4 separate regions of the Homo sapiens genome follow, and regions 2, 3 and 4 are each linked to region 1. The links are contacts of gene promoters, found by promoter capture Hi-C in blood cells and fetal thymus (Javierre and others, 2016). All regions are on one chromosome and are shown on one strand. Each heading gives the region's core, a stretch centred on a gene start or on the middle of the fragment in contact. The rest is flanking DNA. Distances are from core to core; before and after follow the strand shown. Region 1 holds the start of KLF9 (KLF transcription factor 9). Region 2 overlaps ANXA1 (annexin A1). Region 3 has its middle 21 kb from the start of ANXA1. Region 4 holds the start of ALDH1A1 (aldehyde dehydrogenase 1 family member A1).

The links. The method cuts DNA at HindIII sites, captures the fragments that hold promoters and counts their contacts. A CHiCAGO score of 5 or more calls a contact.
Region 2: a fragment that was not itself captured here is called in contact with the fragment with the promoter of KLF9 in region 1 in 1 of 17 cell types (total CD8 T cells); the score reaches 5.6 in total CD8 T cells.
Region 3: a contact is called between a fragment that was not itself captured here and the fragment with the promoter of KLF9 in region 1, in 1 of 17 cell types (activated CD4 T cells). The highest score is 6.1, in activated CD4 T cells.
Region 4: a contact is called between a fragment that was not itself captured here and the fragment with the promoter of KLF9 in region 1, in 1 of 17 cell types (M2 macrophages). The highest score is 5.2, in M2 macrophages.

The regions. Positions count from the first base shown.
Region 1 is chr9:70,412,575-70,417,732 of GRCh38, reverse strand. It overlaps KLF9 (KLF transcription factor 9), which reads left to right and starts at 3,076. Exons shown (of 2, transcript NM_001206.4): 1 at 3,076-4,874. The coding sequence starts at 4,370. KLF9-DT (KLF9 divergent transcript) reads right to left here and starts at 3,543. Exons shown (of 4, transcript XR_001746710.3): 1 at 3,323-3,543. It overlaps LOC124900273 (a long non-coding RNA gene), which reads left to right and starts at 4,927. Exons shown (of 2, transcript XR_007061576.1): 1 at 4,927-5,158. RefSeq lists enhancers at 3,364-3,493, 3,834-3,913, 3,742-4,595, 4,934-5,043, a promoter at 3,225-4,027 and silencers at 4,204-4,383, 5,119-5,158. The HindIII fragment of the contact is 11,812 bases long and covers 1-5,158 here.
Region 2 is chr9:73,164,269-73,169,426 of GRCh38, reverse strand. It overlaps ANXA1 (annexin A1), which reads right to left. Exons shown (of 13, transcript NM_000700.3): 9 at 4,218-4,311; 10 at 3,235-3,330; 11 at 1,872-1,930; 12 at 273-395. Among named protein-coding and RNA genes, the nearest start is that of ANXA1, 15 kb to the right of the region's middle. The HindIII fragment of the contact is 794 bases long and covers 1,892-2,685 here.
Region 3 is chr9:73,127,954-73,133,111 of GRCh38, reverse strand. No RefSeq gene overlaps it. Among named protein-coding and RNA genes, the nearest start is that of ANXA1, 21 kb to the left of the region's middle. RefSeq lists an enhancer at 321-740. The HindIII fragment of the contact is 348 bases long and covers 2,504-2,851 here.
Region 4 is chr9:72,951,580-72,956,737 of GRCh38, reverse strand. It overlaps ALDH1A1 (aldehyde dehydrogenase 1 family member A1), which reads left to right and starts at 3,685. Exons shown (of 13, transcript NM_000689.5): 1 at 3,685-3,803. The coding sequence starts at 3,738. The HindIII fragment of the contact is 2,986 bases long and covers 1,167-4,152 here.

The DNA of each region.
Region 1 (5,158 bases), core at 1,827-4,326:
GCAGTATTTGTAGATGTACAGCAGATGAGATGGTATTTAAAGAACCCAAGTCTTGCCCCAGTTTTTTTCTCTAGGATTTTTTTTCTTTTGTTTTAGATCCCTTGAGTGTTTGGAGTTTGGGAGGAACTATTGGAGATTTATTAATCTAATCTCATCAATTTACAGATAAGGAAATAGCTCCCAGAGATTGTCTGAGGTTAGAGTTTATCTCAGACCCAAAGGCCAGCTCCTCACAGTGGTCTACAACGCTGAAACAGCTGACTGTAGGCACTACTTCTTATTAGAGCTAATAATGATAATACTGTAATTATTTTAGGATGCACAGAAAACAAGGCTGATATGTTCTGGCTACAGGCCCATAAGCCATTGTTTTGAGAACTTTGATAATAAAGCAAATTCTTAGGCAGAATTTAGAGAGGAAAGCATAAACTAGAAGCACACTTACAGTCTGAATTTTCATGCTCCTTCCGGTTGGTTTGTTTGGATTTTGAAAATGTGTATTTACAAAGACTAACTTGGGGGAAAACAGCCCTCTTACATTTATGTGGCATAATATATACTTTAGTGATAAATTATTTTAATTAGGAATGATTCATATTAATTTGGGATCATTTATTTTGCCAACATTTAATTGGGACAACCACATGCTGGCAAAACAGCCCAAGCCGGTTTTAATCATAAAACTATTATAATACGCATTCCAACACCCCCAAGGAAACTTCACTGTTGAAAATAGAAGAAAAAAATCCTGACATAGAAATAATTATTTGCTGATATGTTATTTTATATATACGTTTTTAACATATAAACTTCATGGAGGACAGAGTCTCTTTTCATTTCTGTATTCCCCCATGCCTAGCTCATTGCCAGGAACATAAATATCTGGAGAATGAATGAGTGGAAAAGGAGAAAAAAGAGAAAGCATTCTACAGTTCTAGAATTGCTGGGTTTAAAAAGATATTCTAAATCAAGTCAAGCAGCAGTTATGTTTGTAAATGTGTGAGAAATTCATGTAGATGAAATCTCAGTTTTCTTTCATTACTTTCTTTTGTAACTCTGAAATGAGTGAGTTTGGAGAATTCAGTGTTTATGTCCAGTTCAAACAAAGTGAAATTAAAGGGAATTAAAGAAAAGCTGGCAAGGAGTAAGGAAGGGAAAAGTTTATATTTTTAAAAAACCTAAAGTGACTGATGTATTCAAATTCCTGGATTATATAATCTTCAAGGAAAGATACAGACTTTTCCTCTATTCTGGAATAATGATGATGGTGGTCCTAGGGCTGTCTATAGATGTCCAGGCCCGAGCAGTCTGTTTCACCAGTACAATCCCAGTTAAAATGCAAGTCTGAGGGGTTGTACAGGCCATGATCATAGAGATCCTGGAGAGATCCCGCTGGTATATGCACTGGGCCTTGAGGCAGGCAAAGGTGCAATTTCTAAGTGATCGTGTATCCTAGGGGACAAAATTTGTCCCAGAAAAATCATGAAGTAGGCAAACTCCCCTGGGCTTCAGTGAATTCTTTTCTAAAATTAAGAGATTAAGTTCTAAAAATGCAAGAACTCCAAGATGGCTTGGAGTTTTTTATACACTGTATACCTACCTTACAGGGATGCATGCAGGGTGCTTGGTACAGGGCCTGACACAGAGTAAGCCCTCCATGAAAGGGGTCGGTGATAATGATGCTGATGGTGATGATATTCTTGGTTGCCCAGTATCCCCTATCTACACCTTTCTTCCACCTGCAGTCACCTACTGCAATATCTTCCCTGTACCACTTTAATATTTTTGTTGTTGTTTTCTTTATTTTTTTAAGCTGTACACTTTTATTGAACTGGTCTTGTCAGGTTTGTTATTTTTTAATTAAAATCTATTATACTCTTACTTACCTGAGCCACCCTTAGTTATGATTTAAAAAAAAACAAAAAAAACAGGGCCTTGCTCTGTTGCCCAGGCTGGAGTAGTACAGTGGTGTAATCAGGGCTCACTGCAGCCTTGACCTAGGCTGACGCAGTCCTTCAGCCTCAGCCTCCTGAGTAGCTGGGACTACAGGTGCGAGCCACCACGCCTGGCTAACTTTTTTTTTATTATTATTATTTTTGATGTACCACTTTAAAAACAAAGTCAAAAGAAACTACTGTAGATCTCACATTGGTAGAGTCAATTTGAGACCCTTGCCTCGGAGACCAGAACCTGGTGTAACTTTCTCTTAACAAAGGTTAATAGCCAGTGGGGGGTCAGGGTTGGAACTCACCGAATCTGCATCACATAGAATCAGGTACCTCTCACATTCACGAAAGTGAATTATTTTTAATGAATTGTGCTGACAGTATGCCTCTTGCAAAAAGAACTAGCCCTAGATTCTTTTCTAGCTATCAAGATGGAAAACAACCACATCGTTAATTCAGACGGAGGGGTAAACCAAGTTAATCAGACTCCAAGACCCATACTAATTGTTGACCAAGTAATGCCACAGTATTCCATGGCTAAGGATTTCCAGCTTGTTCCAGTCCCTAAAAATCTGTTCTGCACAGTTAATATTTCACAAAACCAAAAGGGCTTAGTTGCAAGCACAAAGAGCTAGAAATCAGGAGACTTGTGGTTTCTATTGAGTTCTATCATTATCTGTCTAATAAGATAAATAAGTCACTTCTCTGTAACTCAGTTTCCACATTTGTGAAGTGAGGGAAGAGAAACATGTCCTAAAAACCATGCAGGGGCTCTGGAAAGAAAAAGAGCTAAGAATGGTGGGTTTTTTATAAAAGTTACACAAATGAATGGTTTTTGTCTCCGTTTTTCTGAAAGTGGGTTAAAAATAGCCTCCAAATAAAGCTAAAAGAATTTATTTAGACTAAATTGCACCAGAGAAGTAGAGGAATTAAGAGATATGACAAGCAAAGATGGGATGTTTCAATGGAAGAATCTCAGGCAGTAAAAAGGCTATGCTGTAAAACCAGAACTTTTGTTAGCACTGCATTTTTAAGATGAATTGGTCATAGTTAATGTATTGGATGGAAGAATTTTTAAACATCTGCCCCAAAGTATGCTGCATCCAAAAAATATATAACAAAACGAATTCTTACTCATTTGTGTTTATTCTTGGACTTATCCTGACATAATGGGGTTTTTTTAATTATAGATTCACACTGCATTTATTCATCACCCCTGTCCTCTCATCCATAACTCAAATTTACTACCAGCAACACAAAATACAAAGATGTGTCCAGTTTCACTACAGCTCTTCGCGTTTACAAGTGTCGAGCGCTTGCTTTCGGAACGCCCTTGTGATTGGCCGAGCCAATGCCAGTGACATCAACCAACTTACTTTTGATTGGAAGGCTGGTTGCTGGGACTGTAGCGTTTGCAGGAAGTCACTTAACTGTTTGGGAGCTGGAAAACCGAAGCTGAAGTTCTCTTTTGCCATAGGAACGAGCGCAACTGACTAGGAAAGATGTGTCCCAAAGCTCCGCAAGCTGGAACGTGAGCCAGGAGGCCCGGACCGGCCACGGGACCGCGAGGCACTCCGAAAGTGTGCGGCTGCCCCTTCCCTGCCTCCCAGCTGTTACCCTTTTAAATGTCAGTGTTCGAGGCTGTAGGGGTAGCACGAGGCAGCGAAACGGAACAGTCGGATTGGCCGCACGCCTCAGTTCTAGACGCACCTCTCCACCGAAGGCCGTTCTGACTGGCAGGGGGAGAAAGTAAACAGAGTTGAATCACCCTCCCCACTGGCCAATTGGAGGGGGTTTGGTTTGTGACGTGATGGGATTCTGCGAAATTGTTACTGAGCAAGAGAATGCCGGAACGGTGCGGACCGGCCGGAGCAGGGGTTCAGAAGCCGTCAGTGGACTCGGGAAAAAGTGTCTCTTAGACCTGGCGCTCGGCGGGACCCTCGCCACCCGCGTCGGGGTGATCGGGTGAATGTCCTGGGGCTTTGGCTCGACGGCGAGGCGGCCGAGGGCGTGCACCTCTCTTGCAGTTTCCTCTCCCAGCGCCTCGGGGGCGTTTTCAGTCGAATAAACTTGCGACCGCCACGTGTGGCATCTTTCCAAGGGAGCCGGCTCAGAGGGGCCGGCGCGCCCGTCGGGGGATCGCGGCCGGCGCGGGGCAGGGGCGGCGGCTAGAGGCGGCGGCGCGGCGGAGCCCGGGGCCGTGGATGCTGCGTGCGGAGGCGCTGCCGGTTACGTAAAGATGAGGGGCTGAGGTCGCCTCGGCGCTCCTGCGAGTCGGAAGCGCCCCGCGCCCCCGCCCCCTTGGCCGCCGCGCCGTGCCGCGCCGCGCCGCGCTCGTCGTCCGAGGCCAGGGCAGGGCGAGCCGAACCTCCGCAGCCACCGCCAAGTTTGTCCGCGCCGCCTGGGCTGCCGTCGCCCGCACCATGTCCGCGGCCGCCTACATGGACTTCGTGGCTGCCCAGTGTCTGGTTTCCATTTCGAACCGCGCTGCGGTGCCGGAGCATGGGGTCGCTCCGGACGCCGAGCGGCTGCGACTACCTGAGCGCGAGGTGACCAAGGAGCACGGTGACCCGGGGGACACCTGGAAGGATTACTGCACACTGGTCACCATCGCCAAGAGCTTGTTGGACCTGAACAAGTACCGACCCATCCAGACCCCCTCCGTGTGCAGCGACAGTCTGGAAAGTCCAGATGAGGATATGGGATCCGACAGCGACGTGACCACCGAATCTGGGTCGAGTCCTTCCCACAGCCCGGAGGAGAGACAGGATCCTGGCAGCGCGCCCAGCCCGCTCTCCCTCCTCCATCCTGGAGTGGCTGCGAAGGGGAAACACGCCTCCGAAAAGAGGCACAAGTGCCCCTACAGTGGCTGTGGGAAAGTCTATGGAAAATCCTCCCATCTCAAAGCCCATTACAGAGTGCATACAGGTTAGCGGCGTCGCCCTCTCCCCCGGAGCTCTGGGGTTAGTTAACCTTTGGCCAGGCAGCGTTCCTGGGCGTTCGGGACACTGCACTCGGCCGAAAGGGTGCAAACATGTTGGATAAGATGCGGTTTAACTCTTTAAATAATTTAAATGTGCATTGGCGGAAAGCTCACTCTCTCCTTAATTGTCCCCGGCCTCCGGGAGCCACGGAGAGCCTTAAACTGGCGGGCAGAGCGAGTGCGGTGCGTGGCTTCGCGGGGAGTGGTGTCCGCCCCTCCCCTGTCCCGC
Region 2 (5,158 bases), core at 1,039-3,538, 2.8 Mb before region 1:
GAACACTAGAATATTCTGCTTGCTGAATTTATGCATGGGAAACTAAATGTTTCCATGACTTTAGTTGAAAAATGTACCCAGTATTTCAGTAGAGAACTCACTAGTAGATTTTACCAGTGAAAGTTCAATTTACTCATGAAGTATACACCATAATATATTAAATTAATCTTACATATTAAATTTATAGATACAATAAGTCAACTCTTCTCCTTGAAGATCTTGCAAAAAGAACTTTCATTTGTTGGGATGGCATTAGAGGAATCAAAACATACCAGGATGGCTTGGCAAAGGGAGATACCATACATCTTCTGATAGAATGCTTTGATATCATTCATGTCAATTTCAGAACGGGAAACCATAATCCTGATCAATGCCTTATGGCGAGTTCCAACACCCTGGCCAAAATAAATGAGGGTAAGTGTCTCATATTCAGAAAATACTCTCATTAAAAACATGAATTTTAAAGTGAAGCCTTCTTACTCTTCCATATAATTTCTATAGAGAAACTAGCTATACACACACACACACACACACACACACACACACCTTACACGAATGGTAATGAAATGAAAATAAATAATCCTCTACATTAGCGGTAGGTATAGAGAGCTGTCACAACTTCCTAACTCATCTCTCACCATCCGGTCTCTACACTGTCCAATAATTACAAAAAAAGGGAACTTCTAAACTGCAAATCTAATAAACTAGTCTATCTATTTAAAACACTGTCAGTGATCTTCTGTTGCTCTTAGGATAGAATCTAATCAGGGCTTCCGATATCCTGCCTAATTCTTTTTCAAGGCTTACAATATCCTGCCTAATTCTACCATCTCTTCCAGTGTGCACCATCACTCTATACTTACTGTCTTGAGAAGGTTATGTTACCTTTTGCCTTCAAGCCTGTGTGTGGGTTACTTCTTCCTCTTGGACCACCCTTGCTTTATCCCCATCTCTTCCACTCTTGCCCTCATCTGGCTCATTTCTATTTAAACTTCAGGTGTTAATTTAGCTGACAGCAATGCTACCTGGATTTCCAAAGTCTGGAGTATATGTCCCACTTTTCTCTTCCATGGCACCAGGTATTCATCATTACCCAACGAAATATCACACTAGACTATGGCAGAAAGGGGGCAGCAACTATGCTAACCACTACAGAGCAGTACCTAGCATGTCTATCATTTCATATTATTCAAATTATTCATATATATTCAAAATATTCCTTCATATTATTCAAATAGTTAGATCTTTCTTTCTCTCTCTCTCTGAAAACCTCCTTATTTTGGAGCTGCAAAGAAAAAAGGAAGATAACTTCATAACTATTCATTTGTGGGCTCAAAATGTCAGAATAGAAGAGGTACCTTGTATAATACCATGCATGTCAGACAGTAAAGTTAAAGTGACATAGTTGATCTCAAATACATCATTCTACATCCTTAATCATAGAATGACATTTCAAAAGTTTCAACTATTAATCTGTGGCATAAAAGACAGAATAATAAAAACAACAAATCAGACTCATAAAGTGGGAGATTATAAAACTCACAACCTTAGAGGAAGTAGGCCACTAAAATTACACGTTAAAAAAGAAAGTACATCACCCTTCCCGTGGTGACACATGTTTTAAGCAAATCACAAGTGAGCCGTAAATCACTTACAGGCTCACTTTACAATCTCATCTGTAAAAAAAAGCACCGAATCTAACAGAAGTTTATTCTGAGAAGGTAGTGTATTACCTCTTTCATCAAATAGAACAATGATTCTCATTAATGGGAAGATATTAAATGTGAGATTTTCAAACAACATGAGGTTTTCTGTTCTTTCTACAAATAATTCTTCCTCTAAGCAGGACATATAAGTAGAATGGTACATACTTTCATGGCTTGATGAAGCTTCTCTGCAAAGAAAGCTGGTTTGCTTGTGGCGCACTTCACTGTTAGAGAAGAAAATTTTAGTTGATGTATTTACCATGAAAAAAATGAAATATCCATATGAAAGAAACAGGAAATATAGAATTTTGCCAACAGTGTTCTATCCCTCATCATCATTCTTCACCTCTCATCTCCCAATATAGGGCAGTTAACTTCTGAGAAGGTATTTGTGACTCTCTAGATGGTGGTTTTGAATATTCTTTTCCCTGACGATCAATTTTTTTATTACCTTAAATACATCTCAAGAGCAACTTCAGTAGTTTGCGCTATCCAACATATATTCTCCTTGGGAGTGGAGAAGCCACTAGGTGTTCAAGCCTATGTAAATACTTTATTTATGTTACTATAAGAACATTTAAAAAGAACACCCTATGAACAACAGACACTGCAGACTACTAGAGAGGGCAGGGAGAGAAGGGGCATTGGTCAAAAAACTACTTATTGGGTACTATGCTCACTGCCTGAGTGCAGAACACCCATGGAACAAACGTGCACATGTACCTCTGTGTCTAAAGTAAGAGTTGCACAAACAAATAAGTAAAAATAAATGAATAAATGAAGAAAAAACTCTGGGATAGGATGGGCTTAAATATAAAACAGAACCCAAATAATACTAGCACATTCCAGTTCATAGTGTTCTTCATCTTGTCGAGATCTATGGACCAACAGCATTGGCATCAATGGGGAGCTTGTTAGAAAAGCAGAATCTAAGCTCCACCCCAGACCTGGGGAATCAGAATCTGCATTTTAACAAGCTTTCCAGGGGATTCAAGTGCATAGTCATGAATGAGAAACACTGCTTGAGAACATAGGTTCCCCAACCCTGATGGTTGTCTGAATAACCTGGGAGATCTTTAAAAAGTACCGATTTTTAGAGGCCAACTCGGACCCACTGAATCAGACTCTCCTGGACCTGCCCAAGATTGTACAATTAACAAGCAGTAGACCAGGACTTGAAGTTACATTTATCCAGATGTTACATTTATTCCAGATCCCATGCTCTCAGTGACCATTCTGAATTGCCTCTGTGGTGTGCCCAGCCTGGTACATTGTTTGATATAAGTAGGTGCTCAATAAGTATAGTCTATCTCTCTCTATTTTTGAAAAGGGGAATAATATCTATTGTTATTAAGGTTATAGTACTTTGCCAATCTTTTACGTTGCTTCAATTGAAACAGATGCACTACTTCTGATTGTTTTTTGTTTTCTTTTATTGGTTTTGTTGCTGTTGTTCTTGTTAAGTATAGGATAGCTTTGAAAATACAATTTCTAGTTAGAAAACTCTTTCAACTGCTGGACTACATACCGATAGCTGTGAGGCATTTCTCAATGTCACCTTTCAACTCCAGGTCCAGAACTTTGTTCATGTCATGCTTACTGTACTTGGTGTATTTCTGAAACACTGAATATTAAATTCAAACTAAGATACATGCAAAACATCCTTTTCTTTAGAAAGCTTTAGCAAAATCAAGGCAACTGACTCAAAGAATTTTTTAGAATAACAACTTTGGCTACACCTTTTAAAGCAATATACCCAATTAATCATAACGTGAATACTTCATCCTCTCCTAGGAATGTAACTTACCTGGCCATTTTGGTATTCCTATATATTTTGGCGAAATGTTTGCAAATGTTGACAGTTATTAGAAACGGCATGTGATTGACAACTATAGCACTTCCTACAGCAGTTCTAAGAGCCACAGCAAATGGATCTTCCCTTATATAAAGACCTGTGCACTAAATTTCTCTTACATTTAACAGTAGAAATCAGTATACTATTATAAGATGGTGAACTTTGGTAATTGTCATAACTTTTCCATCGCCTTCACTTCCAAGAGGCCCAGAGCTAAATCTTGCACTCAAAGGCCAGGACTTTTTCTGAGTTTTGTCTTGTTGTTGTTTTTCCAAAGCACCTACATATTTCTTTCTTCATTTAGCTCTGAGGGTTTTTTGTTTTTTTTTTTTTGTTTTTCTTCATTCTAATTTCATTTGTTCTGTTATGCATGTCTTTTCCCACACATATTCCAAATCTTTTAGGGGAGTAAAAGCAGTGAAAATAACAAAATTATGTTCCACATGCCCAAGTCACAAAATGTATTAAATATGATAAAGTAGCGGCTGTACAAAATTGGACAAATTGACAAATAACAATGGGTCAGGAACACTGTATCTGTTTGATACAGGAGTGATATTGAAAAAGGGTTCTGTTTTTACTTTCTCTTATTTGTCATCAAAAAAGAAAATTGCATCTTCCATAAACAGATTCCAGAAAAAGAAATTTATTGTTACCTCTGCGAAGTTGTGGATAGCTTCTGGTGGTAAGGATGGTATTGAACACGTTTACGTCTGTCCCCTTTCTCCTTTCTCCTGCTTCATACAAGGCCTGTCAAGAAACACAAAAGTAAACACTTCACTATCTGCTGAAATGATATCTGCACAATAATGTTAGACCTTGTCAAAGATTATATAGGCAATCGCTTTGTGCCCAATACAATCAGAGTAGTCAACAATAAGATTGCAAGTTCTTTAAAGATAGGGACCTTATTTTGTTTGTCAAATATCTTCCACAGTTTCTCTCAAGGTGCCTTGTAAACACTAGAGTCTGAATATATGTTTGCAGAATAAATGTTTGCTGAACTAAATTGCTTTAAGATTATGCTCTATAGTAAGACAACTCCAAGGGGATCTCTAAAGATTTTTTACTCTGTGTTGTTCAAAGTAATTATCAGCAAATGTTACTTATAAATCAATAATTCAACCGTAACCTGGACCTTGCATTTTGATGTTAGAATTTCTGTATTCAAATTCTGACTCTGCAATTTCAAAGCTGCATAATCTTAGACAAATAGATCAACCTTACTAAATGACAGATTTTTTTCTTTTATATATGAAAAATATAATCCCTGCCCTATTGTCACAAGCGGTCTTTATTAACTTTGAAATGTTGACTACCATCATTCTCTTGGGTCACACTAATCCATGTAACCTCCATAAATATATATTAAGAACCCTGATAGTCTTAAAATGGAAAGCAAATTCAGAAATGTCAAAAGCAAATAAGAATTTTTTATTATGGGCAATTATTCAAATGCTAACTCTTGTTCCTTAATATGCTTGAACAATTTCTATTAAAATGATAAAACCTTCAATGTATGTAAAAATTATTTTGCATTTTTCAAGCAAATTGATCTGATATGTATGCATTTGTTGAACAAAAAGTTCATGAGTGC
Region 3 (5,158 bases), core at 1,428-3,927, 2.7 Mb before region 1:
TTGGCATAGTGAATTTGGGGTCCTGAGCTTTTCTTTTCCTTTCACAACAGTAAGGAAAAATTTTTTAAAGATAAAAGTGTGTCCTGAAATCAGACAAGTTTAGGTTTTCTTTTGGAAATGATTCTTTCACCATTTTTCATGTTTTATGATGAAAGTGAAGTTATTTTGGAAAAGAAATACATTATTTTTTGTATTCTTTGAAGTTCTCTGAACGTGTTTCTATATTTTTAAAGGCACCTGATCAAATTTCTCTAAGAGTTTGGCCCATAAGGAAAACAGATTAGTAGAAACCTTATGAAGCTGAAGGAAAACAAGTGAATTATTTATTATTCCACTTTTTCTAATTTCGTTGTATGTTCAGAACCACCACAATGCTTATCGTGTTATTATCAGAAGACTATACGTCATAAAACAGAAATGAAAGGACCGTTCTTATGAAAAACACTGAAGAAAGAGAAGAGGGACGTTAGAAAACATTGCCAAAGATGTGGGAGGGCCAGAAATATTACAAATACTAAAAACGGATGAGGAGAGAAGGTAACAGCATGGGCTTCTGCAGCTGTAGCGTTTAATGCTGGAAACTCCAGGCGCTCCGAAGCCCCACGGCTGAGCCTGTCTCAGCATGTTTCTCTTTTGAGTCTGTGTGCTGGCAAGGCATTTCCTCGGCTGGTTGCTATAGAAATAATTATACTACACAACTTTGAGAAGCAGAAGCAGACGGAAGTTACAGCAGAAACACTGTCATCTTGGTGTTGTTCTAATAGCCTTAGGATTCGAAAATGAGGCAAAATTAAAAACAAAAAGCACCATTATTTAAATTGAAAATTTAGAAATGTGGGTTATTGTTCAAGTATTCAAAGTCAGCACTACAGAACAGTTAAGTGAGTGTTCTTACACCGAAGTCCTCAGAGCCACTTGGCAAATGCTAGAGAAAACAGGAAGTAAGGACCTCTGTCAAGCAGAAGAATGTCTGATTTTAATCAGGAAATTGAGGATAAGTTTATTTTTGAAGGGATGATATCATCCGGTGAATGGCCTCTTTTGTTTGTAGTATATGCTGGAATGTCACCACCTTGGGAAAAAGTATTCAAAAATTCATAGCCTTTTTTTTTTACTAACACCATATTCACTTTGATTCTTTCTTTTAAATTTTATTTCTTGTGAGATTTATCAACTATGTGTGATTGCATATGCATATTTGTATGTGCAGATATAGACATATAGATATGTCTTTCAATTTTCTCTGTTCTCTTCCGTCTATTTTTTGATCTTTCTCGTTCCCGGTACCACAGTATCTTAATTTCTAAAGTTTTGTAATGAATTTTGATGTCTGAAAGGGCAATCCCAACATCCTTTTCTTCATGTCGCCAAGAAGCTAACAATTTTCCATTAGGAAACAGCCAGCCACATTTCCCAGTTTTGGCATGGTAACATACTGAAGACTCCTGTGATAGTAATTGTAGCTTTTTAGTCATTACAAAGTAAAAGATGACAGAGTTAAGAAAGGACTTAAACTGCAAGACCATTCATTAGTTCTACAATGGGTATCAATTTTCATTTGACTCATCTGATGTTGACTACTTAGAATTCCAGCTTTTAAACAAAAGCTAAGTTTAATCTGTCTATCTACCCAAGTTAATCATTCTGTATTAAGTATTCCTGTCTATTTTAGTTTATCTCAAGGATTTCAAATAATTCAACCAATTAACAATCTAGGATAAAGGGATAACTATAATAATATTTGCATTTTGAGAATCAATAATAATTGATTCTCGAAGGTCTACTTCAAGTTTAATAAATGGAATAAATTAAATATATCAAATGGACAATTCCAAAAAACTTTTATTTACATAAAAATTTTAACAACCATTCAAAACTGAATATAGTAAATGTTAAATGAACAAGATAGCTGTTTGGAGAACGTGATTTCTACTAAGAGATAGAGGTCATCGAGAAAGGTTACTGTAAGCCTTAAAACATGAAATAGCACTCACATAGAGAAGGTGCCAAAGGGTATTCCAGAGACGAGAAGCATCATTACCCAAGATAAAGAGACTAGAATATGCATAGTGGACTCCCTGGTTGTAATTCAAATTATAAGTGGATTATTTTTAAAATGTATACAACTGTATGCACAGAAATCTCTGCTGTGTATGCTTGTGGCATTGCAGCTTCCTTCTGTGGGTCTGAGAATTGGTGCAGGTTTTTAAACTGGGTCAAGAAGTAATATTCCGTGGGCATTGATGACATGAGGCTTCCAATTGCTCATCCAGTTTTAATCATCCTTGATTATGTATAGCCAACCACGCTCTTGTTGTCTATCCATCTATTTTTTCTCGATAAACACCTTGGGATATCAGCCATCACCATAGATCTCTAGTGGTTGACTATATTGCACTTGACCCCTGATATTCTGGAATATAATCATTTCCATTGACACTAGGGAGCCCAGTTCTCTAACAGTATTGCCTACTGTCAACTTCGGTCCAGCTATCACTAAGCTTCTCAAATATGCCAATCCCTCCATCAATAGCACATTCCTTATCAGCTTTGTGATGAGAATGTTCTCTGGCCCTTCAATGAACATAATCAGCTGGTAGTCTCTCTGGTGTTACACAATAGAATCATTCTAGCATGCTCACTTCTCTGAGCCTTTTGAGCCCTTCCTCAAAACTCTGCTAAAGCAGTTCTGTCATCTCTGCTTAATTTAATGTGAGCCTTTTTCTTCCCCCTACAGAACTTTTAGTAACCATCCAAGCAGCGTATTAGAACCATTCCCAGGTGCTCTTGTTAGGGAGTTTTCAGTCATGGAAGAATGTTCCCTTGTTGACAAATGTTCCTTTATCAAGCTTCTCTCTCACTATCCCCAGCTCTCACCCCAATCCAGCGCTATCAAGATATACTTCCTGGCATGCTGTCCTGATTCCTTTTGCTGCAAATTAATCACGTCTTGATGTTCTTTTGGAGAGTAATTTTTTCCCTTCCCTGGTTGGCCCATGCTGAGACTTAGATACAGAACTAGAAGACAGGAGAGAAAGTGAAGTCAGATCTTGATAAGGACAAATATCATCGTCAAAGGCATCCATCTCGGTTGAGGTTTTGGTGTGGCCTTCAAGCAAGAGAAAGCTGCTATGTTCCAGCAAAACTAAATAAGCCACTCTTATATGCCCAGGGGTTCAAAGGAATCTGCGAGTTCTATAATTTTGAGCACATCCACCTACAATTCTCTGCACCATCTCTATCAGGGTTCTGACTTAGCATAAAACCTTGCCAAGGCTATTAACTCATCTTTTGTTGTATTTCTACTACTTTTATAGTAAAGTTTATCATCCAGTCTTCCTTTCAATCTGTCTTCTAGCTATAGAAAGCATGGGTTTCTTTAAATGCTGCCCTGGAGTCCTCCAATCTTTCATACCATGCCCCTGGTTAGTAACGGACAAACCTGAGCTTGTCAATTTTCTTCTTCGGCACAATGACACTTAGCAACAACCAACCAATTTCCAAATCTTATAATTAATAAATCCCCCCATAGCTCTGAAATGCATGTGTAGTCTCCTTTCATCTGTATCCCATGCCAACTCACCACTGGCAAAAGTTATGCAATGACAGTGCTAGAGTTTTCAGTTTTTAACAGTTTAATCTCCAACAGTGTGATCCAGTTGTTATCCAGATGGCAAGTGATCTAACTCAGAATCCCTTCCTAAGTGTATGCTTCCTAGGACCACTTCTGAAATAACCTATTTTCAAGTTGCGTTTCTTCATTAGTTTCCTAGGGTTGCTATAAGAAAGTACCACAAACTTGCTGGCATATAACAACAGAAATTTAGTCTCTCACACTTCTGGAGGATAGAAGTTCCAAATTAAGGTCTCGGTAGGGTTGATTTCCTCTGGGTGCTCCAAACGAAATTATGTCCTGTGCTTCTCTCCTGCCTTCTGGTGGTTTGCTGGCAATCTTTGCCATTGCTTGGCTTATAGATGCACCATTCCAATATTTACATCTGGTTTCACATGGCACTCTCCTTTTTGTGTCCTTGTGGTCAGATAACATTCTCCCTGAGTGTCTCTATCTCTGTGTCCAAGTTTCCCTCTTCTTATAATGGCACCATTCATATTGGATTTAGGGCCCACTCTAACATAGTGTCATTATCTCACCCTACCTTAATTACATCTACAATGATTGCATTTCCAAATAAGGTCATATTTACAGGTTAGGACCTTAAGATATATTTTTAAAGGACACAATTCAACCCATAACAGCATTCGAAAGACAAATCTTATGATGAAAATTTGTGTGTAACTTATGTATTAGAGTATATTCCCAAGAAATTACAGAGAAATGGGAATAATAACAGAAGAAGACCAATAAAGGATGCATTATCAAGCAATTTCCAATGAAGTACATCTTTTGTTCAAGCCTGCCATGCATTTCTGGGCACAGTATAGATCTCAACTCTGAATTGGTCAATAGAGGTAAAGTCTTACCTGTGCACCTACCAGTCATTGATTTAGAGCTATGACTGAGGGAATGTAAATTTCCAGGCATATTTAGTTCCCTTTTGTGCAGATAAAGTGGTTGTGACAGCCTGAATTGCAGGTCCCTCACCCAGATTCATAAGTTAAGGTCCTAACCCACAGTACATCAGAATGTGACTTGTTTTGGAGATAGGGCCTTTAAAGAGAAATGGCCTCTCTCCTTGCCATACCACGTGAGAGAGTTTTCTCAGAAAAACCAAACCTGCTGATGCTTTAATCTTACATTTCTGGCTTCTGGACCTTGAGAAAATAAATGTTTATTGTTTAAGACACCCAGTCTTAAAGACACCCCTAGCAAACTAATACAGCAGCCACTGATAATCACAGGGTGCTGTCTCATGGGACTGAGAGCACACTGAGGCAGCTATGAATGTAGTGAAAGAGCCATCAGAGGGAAGAGCACCCATGGTGTCTTCTCTGGCCCTAAGCCTTCATTGCCAGGAAACCATTTGCAGAACACCTGATTTCTGTCCTCACAATTTTAGCTTTTGCTCCATTAGACATCCTGTTTTTTCCAGAAAAGGAACCTGAAATTGCCACTCATACTTGGTCAATGTAGGCTGCTCTAAAAAGTTTACCCAGGATAGCTTTTATATAATAGAGTATCAACTATGGACCCGGGAAG
Region 4 (5,158 bases), core at 1,410-3,909, 2.5 Mb before region 1:
CTCTCACTACATACAAGATCCACTTTTCCCAAATTATTAAAACTCAAATAAGCATAAGAGCAATGTGGTATCTGATAAAAATGTAGTAATCAAAAGCATAGGGATAGATTTCTTGCTAGGTTTACCAACAGGCAGACATGCTAAGGCAACAGAGAATAGTTAGGGGAGTGGTCATGTAACTGGAGTAGGAGAGGTTCATCTTCAATAAATGGTTCCAGCATCTTGAAATCAGGAAATATGAAAAGAAACTGTCTTAGTTCATTCAGGCTGCTATAACAAAAATTAATTTCTCACAGTTCTGGAAGCTTGAAGTCTGAAATTAGGGTGCCAACATAGTTGGGTTCTGGTGAGAGCCCTCTTTTGGGTTACAGATTGCCAATGTCTCATTGCATCCACACATGGCAGAAACAGCGAGAGATCTCTCTGGAGTCCCTTTTATAAAAGCACTGATCCATTCATGAGGGTCCTACCCTCATAACCTCATTACCTCCTAATATGATTTGGCTCTGTGTTCCCACCCAAATCTCACCTTGAATTGTAGTTCCCATAATCCCCACATGTCATGGGAGGGATCCGGTGGGATGTACTTTAATCATGGAGGGGGGTTACCGTCATCCTGTTCTCATGATAATAAGTGAATTCTCATGAGATCTGATGGTTTTATAAGGGGGTTTTCCCCCTTTTGCTGAGCACTTCTCCTTGCTGCCACCATGTGAAGAAGGACGTGTTTGCTTCCCCTTCCACTGTGATTGTAAGTTTCCTAAGGCCTCCCCAGCCATGCTGAACTGTGAGTCAATTAAACCTCTTTCCTTTATAAATTACCCAGTCTCAAGTATGTCTTTATTAGTAGCATGGGAATGGACTAATACACCTCCCAAAGGCTCCATCTCCTAATACCATCACATGGGGGGTTAGGATTTCAACATATCCATTGTGACTGGACAAAAAAAATTCAGTCCATTGCAGAAGCTATTTTTAATTCATCATATGACTTTTTTCAACATTTTTTTAAAAATTTTAAGTCCTGGGTGGCAGATTAGGTTCCTTTTATCTTTTCAGGAACTGAGGATTGGACGGAGTTCTGGAGATGTTTGTTGTAAAATGAAAGAGTAGTTTCAAGAATGGTTGAAGTCATAATCTATATGTTTCTTGGTATAATGAAAGCTTTCACAAATGGCTGGAGAAGTCAAATTCAAGAGATGAATAAACTATCCTCTTATGTTTCTTGCTTCTCTCTCCATATGTGTGTGTGCCTGTGTGTGTGTGTGTGTGTGATTTAGTTTGTTCATAAGGAGGAAAAAGAAGATGAAACATCATTTGTCGATTACTCTCAAGTTAAAGGGACAGCTCCTCCTCTGCTGCATAGTCCTGGCATACCATAAAAACGTACAATCCTGGGTCCAGTTCTAAAATGTGCAACCTTGGTCCCTAGGTTCTCACAAAAGCCATTATTTCCTCTGTAAGGAATAGAAGTAGTCTGATGAAATCTTTTCCTCATATGCAGCAATTCCCAGAAATATGCTATTCTACAAAATAAGCTCTCAGGGCAGGATGATGTTTACCTCAAAAATATAGGTCTCAGGCCCTGTGGTTTCTAGGCAGAAAAGATCTGCTTAAGTGAGGTTAGGGCTAAAGAATTATGGATGCATAAATGATACTTAGTAAATATTTGCTGAAATTAAATGGGCAGGTGTGGTAACCTGTCTCCAAAGCAACTCCTTTTGCCTACATTCAGGAATGCCTGGTATAAAGGGACTGTTCTTACATAATTATCCAATAAAATACAATTGAGAATGATCATATAAGAAGTGAGATGACAAGCCAAGTATGTTATGAAGCCTTGAGCTTTCATCGCCTGGACATCAAATAAACCAGTATTTGAATCCACAAACAACTGTGACTCTGGGAGAAGAAAGCAGCAAAACACAGCTGTTTGGGCATGGCCAGAGCGCCACTCTCAAGTTATGTAACAGCTGTTGTGTAATTGTGCATTTAACTCAAAACACATTTTTGAGAGAGAAAACAATTAGACTTTCCAAAAAGAAAGAAACAGAGAAATGTTGAAAGAACACAGAAGTTTCTATCTGGTCATCAAACATAAGACACGGGGGAGTCAAAGGCATTGGGAATGATATTGCCTTAGAATCTAGGGAGTTGGCCCGTGCACCAAATCTGGCCTGCCTTCTGTCTTTTTAAATAAAGTTCTATAGGAAAACAACTACACCCATTAATTTACCTATCATCTACAGTTTCTTTTAAATAGAGTCAAGTAAATTATATCAGAAACCATCCAGCCCAGAGGCTGAAAATATTTACAGAAAAAGTTTTGCAAATTCTTGTCTTAGATGAATAAAAAGTTATGTTTAAATGCCTGTAAGGGTGACTATTCACTGAGAAAACCAAAGCAGTTGATGCTTGAACCCATGTAGGAGTTCTCTTGTGGAGAATAGGGTAGAAATAGTAAACAGAAATAAGAGTCCAGGTTTGGGAGTCAGACTGGCCTGAAATGAAATTCTGGTCCTGCACTAATAGATCTGTGACCATAAGTAAGCTACTCACCCTCTGTATGTCTCTAAAATGGGGATATGAAATGAGGGTAGAAAGGGAAACAAGTGCTGCACCTGATTTGGGCAAACAATTCAGAAATTTTTAGTTTCCCTATGTAAGTCCCATATTCAGGGGAATTGGCAAGTTTCACTAGAAAAAAAAAAATTGGTTGATTCTCCACAATCAGAGCATCCAGAGTATTTTATCTTGTTCCTATTGTAACGTTTGCTAGAGCTACAATACAATAAAGTATTGTACTTAAAATGGGAGTAACACTGTTTAAAAAATTGTCCTTCAGCTAAATATTAATTTAAGAACTTGAATTGTTTGGAAGCCCTGCTTAAATTTAGTCTTTGTACACTGCCTATGTTGATAAATACAGACAACTTCCAAAACCAGGATTACTTTCATTTTAAATGAGTATTAATAGATGATATTGCCATATTTCTAATTGTGGTGATTGTGTGTGACAGTGTGTTCCGAATTCCCTAAAAGTCCTGCTGGCTTTTCTGTTCACATATAGAAAATAAAGATAATTTAGGGCTTCTGAGATCACAGTAGGTCTACTTACCCAGCACTGAAAATACACAAGACTGATACGATATTTTAAAACTAACTTAGGGTAGGGTGTAGATAAAGGGCCTTTCTTCCCCAAACAGCACCTTGATTTTCTGGGAGATGGACTGATTTCCTGAAAGCCTTGTCCTGAAGACACCTGGCCAGCTTCTACTGAGAACAAGTGCCCTTTTAGACTCTTTTCAATCCTCAAATTCTCTGATTCCAAGTCTGTCAGAGAACAGAAAGTTACATAGTAGCATTAAAAAGCATGAGAAGTCAAAAAAATAATAACTGGCCTTAGTGGCCAGAGCAGCTGCTGCATACACTTATCACAGGTTTCGGCTTTGTAAATTAATTCATCTGCAAATAGTGCACTGTCTCCAGGTACAAATTCGATGCTGGAGCACTGGTTTCTTAAGGATTTAAGTTTAAAGTCAAAGGCTTCCTGCCCTAGGTGTTACAAATAAGTAGTGTCGTTTTCTTTTTTTGCTCTGAGTTTGTTCATCCAATCGTATCCGAGTATGCAAATAAACTTTAGCCCGTGCAGATAAAAAAGGAACAAATAAAGCCAAGTGCTCTATCAGAACCAAATTGCTGAGCCAGTCACCTGTGTTCCAGGAGCCGAATCAGAAATGTCATCCTCAGGCACGCCAGACTTACCTGTCCTACTCACCGATTTGAAGATTCAATATACTAAGGTGAGTAAAACTTCTATTTTCTGCTTTGACTCGGGTTTGCAAAAACTGCATTTATGTAAAGCATTAAAGGTCAATTTAAGTAAACTTGTGTAAAGAGCCCTTTGCAAATATAAAAATAAAAGGCATGCAAAATGCAGGTCTCAGTTTAGTGTCCTGATCAAATATGATCTAAATCATATCAGACAATCTTTCATAAATTTATTTCTTAAAATATTTCCAAGCGAAAGGAATTCTCTTCTGTGTGAAAGGATTCTTATACCAGGATTCAGAGGACTTTACTAAGCACTTCTATTAACTTCACTATAGCCGGCATGTATGATAAGAGAGCAAAATACTCACTAGAGAAGCTTACTGGAAAGAACCAAACGAGTAGGAACAATAGAAAGCAAACAAGGAGAAAGAGAGCATACTGAAATAACATAACTTTCCAATATGTTTAATAAAATGAGTGTTAAAATAGGGGGACTTAAGTCTGATAATTGGATTCGAAAATCTTCAGATGGACTTGCATTATTTTGCATATTTTGGTGGGAGGAAGAAAAGCATTATTTCTTCAGCCAAGTTTGTTGCCATTGGAGCAGATGTGTAATTGTTAACTGATAAATATTTAGAGAAACAAGAGCAGGAGCTAGATCCAGACTTTAAAATCCGCAGCTGGGGGGAACTAGGAAATGGATCCTGCTTGAGTCGTTCTGAGAGTAACTCTGAACTTTGCCTGTTTCACACTGCTTTCCTGTCAGATCCTAGAACTCCAAAACAAACAAATGAATAAAACACAATCTAACCAAAATTACTTGAAGTTATCTTTATGGTGTGATGCAGAAAGTATGGTAAGAAATTAACTCTTGCAAATCAAGAGAGAGCCATTTTGCTGTCTGAATTAGCCAACAGAAAAACAAAGGGCATTATAATTTAATGATAAAGTAAAAGTCCCCACTGTTATATATTTATTTCCTCACTTGTAACCATGGATGGCTTTGAAATCCCAAGGTCTGTTGCATTTTCATTTTCATAAAGCACAACAAATGAGGAAGTTGCTCAGCTGATTGGCTCTTTTCCTCAGGAAAGTAGCAGCAGAGATCAGATTGTGCCTTTAACATGGTTGACCAGCAGCTATGAAGTGTATTTTAAGGTATTGTTATCACGAGGTTTTGTTAAAGAGGAAAGATTTTTTCCATTTAGTTTTACTACAAATGGTAGCATGAAAAATGCAGTAAATCCATACCGTCAAACAATTTACATTTGGCAAAGGTATGTCCAAAAGGTTGCAAGAGTCCAGTCTCCCTCATTTTCTTATTCCAAGTTTGTCATTCACAAGAAATTTCAATTGAAAGTGGGTACATTTAAAAATACAT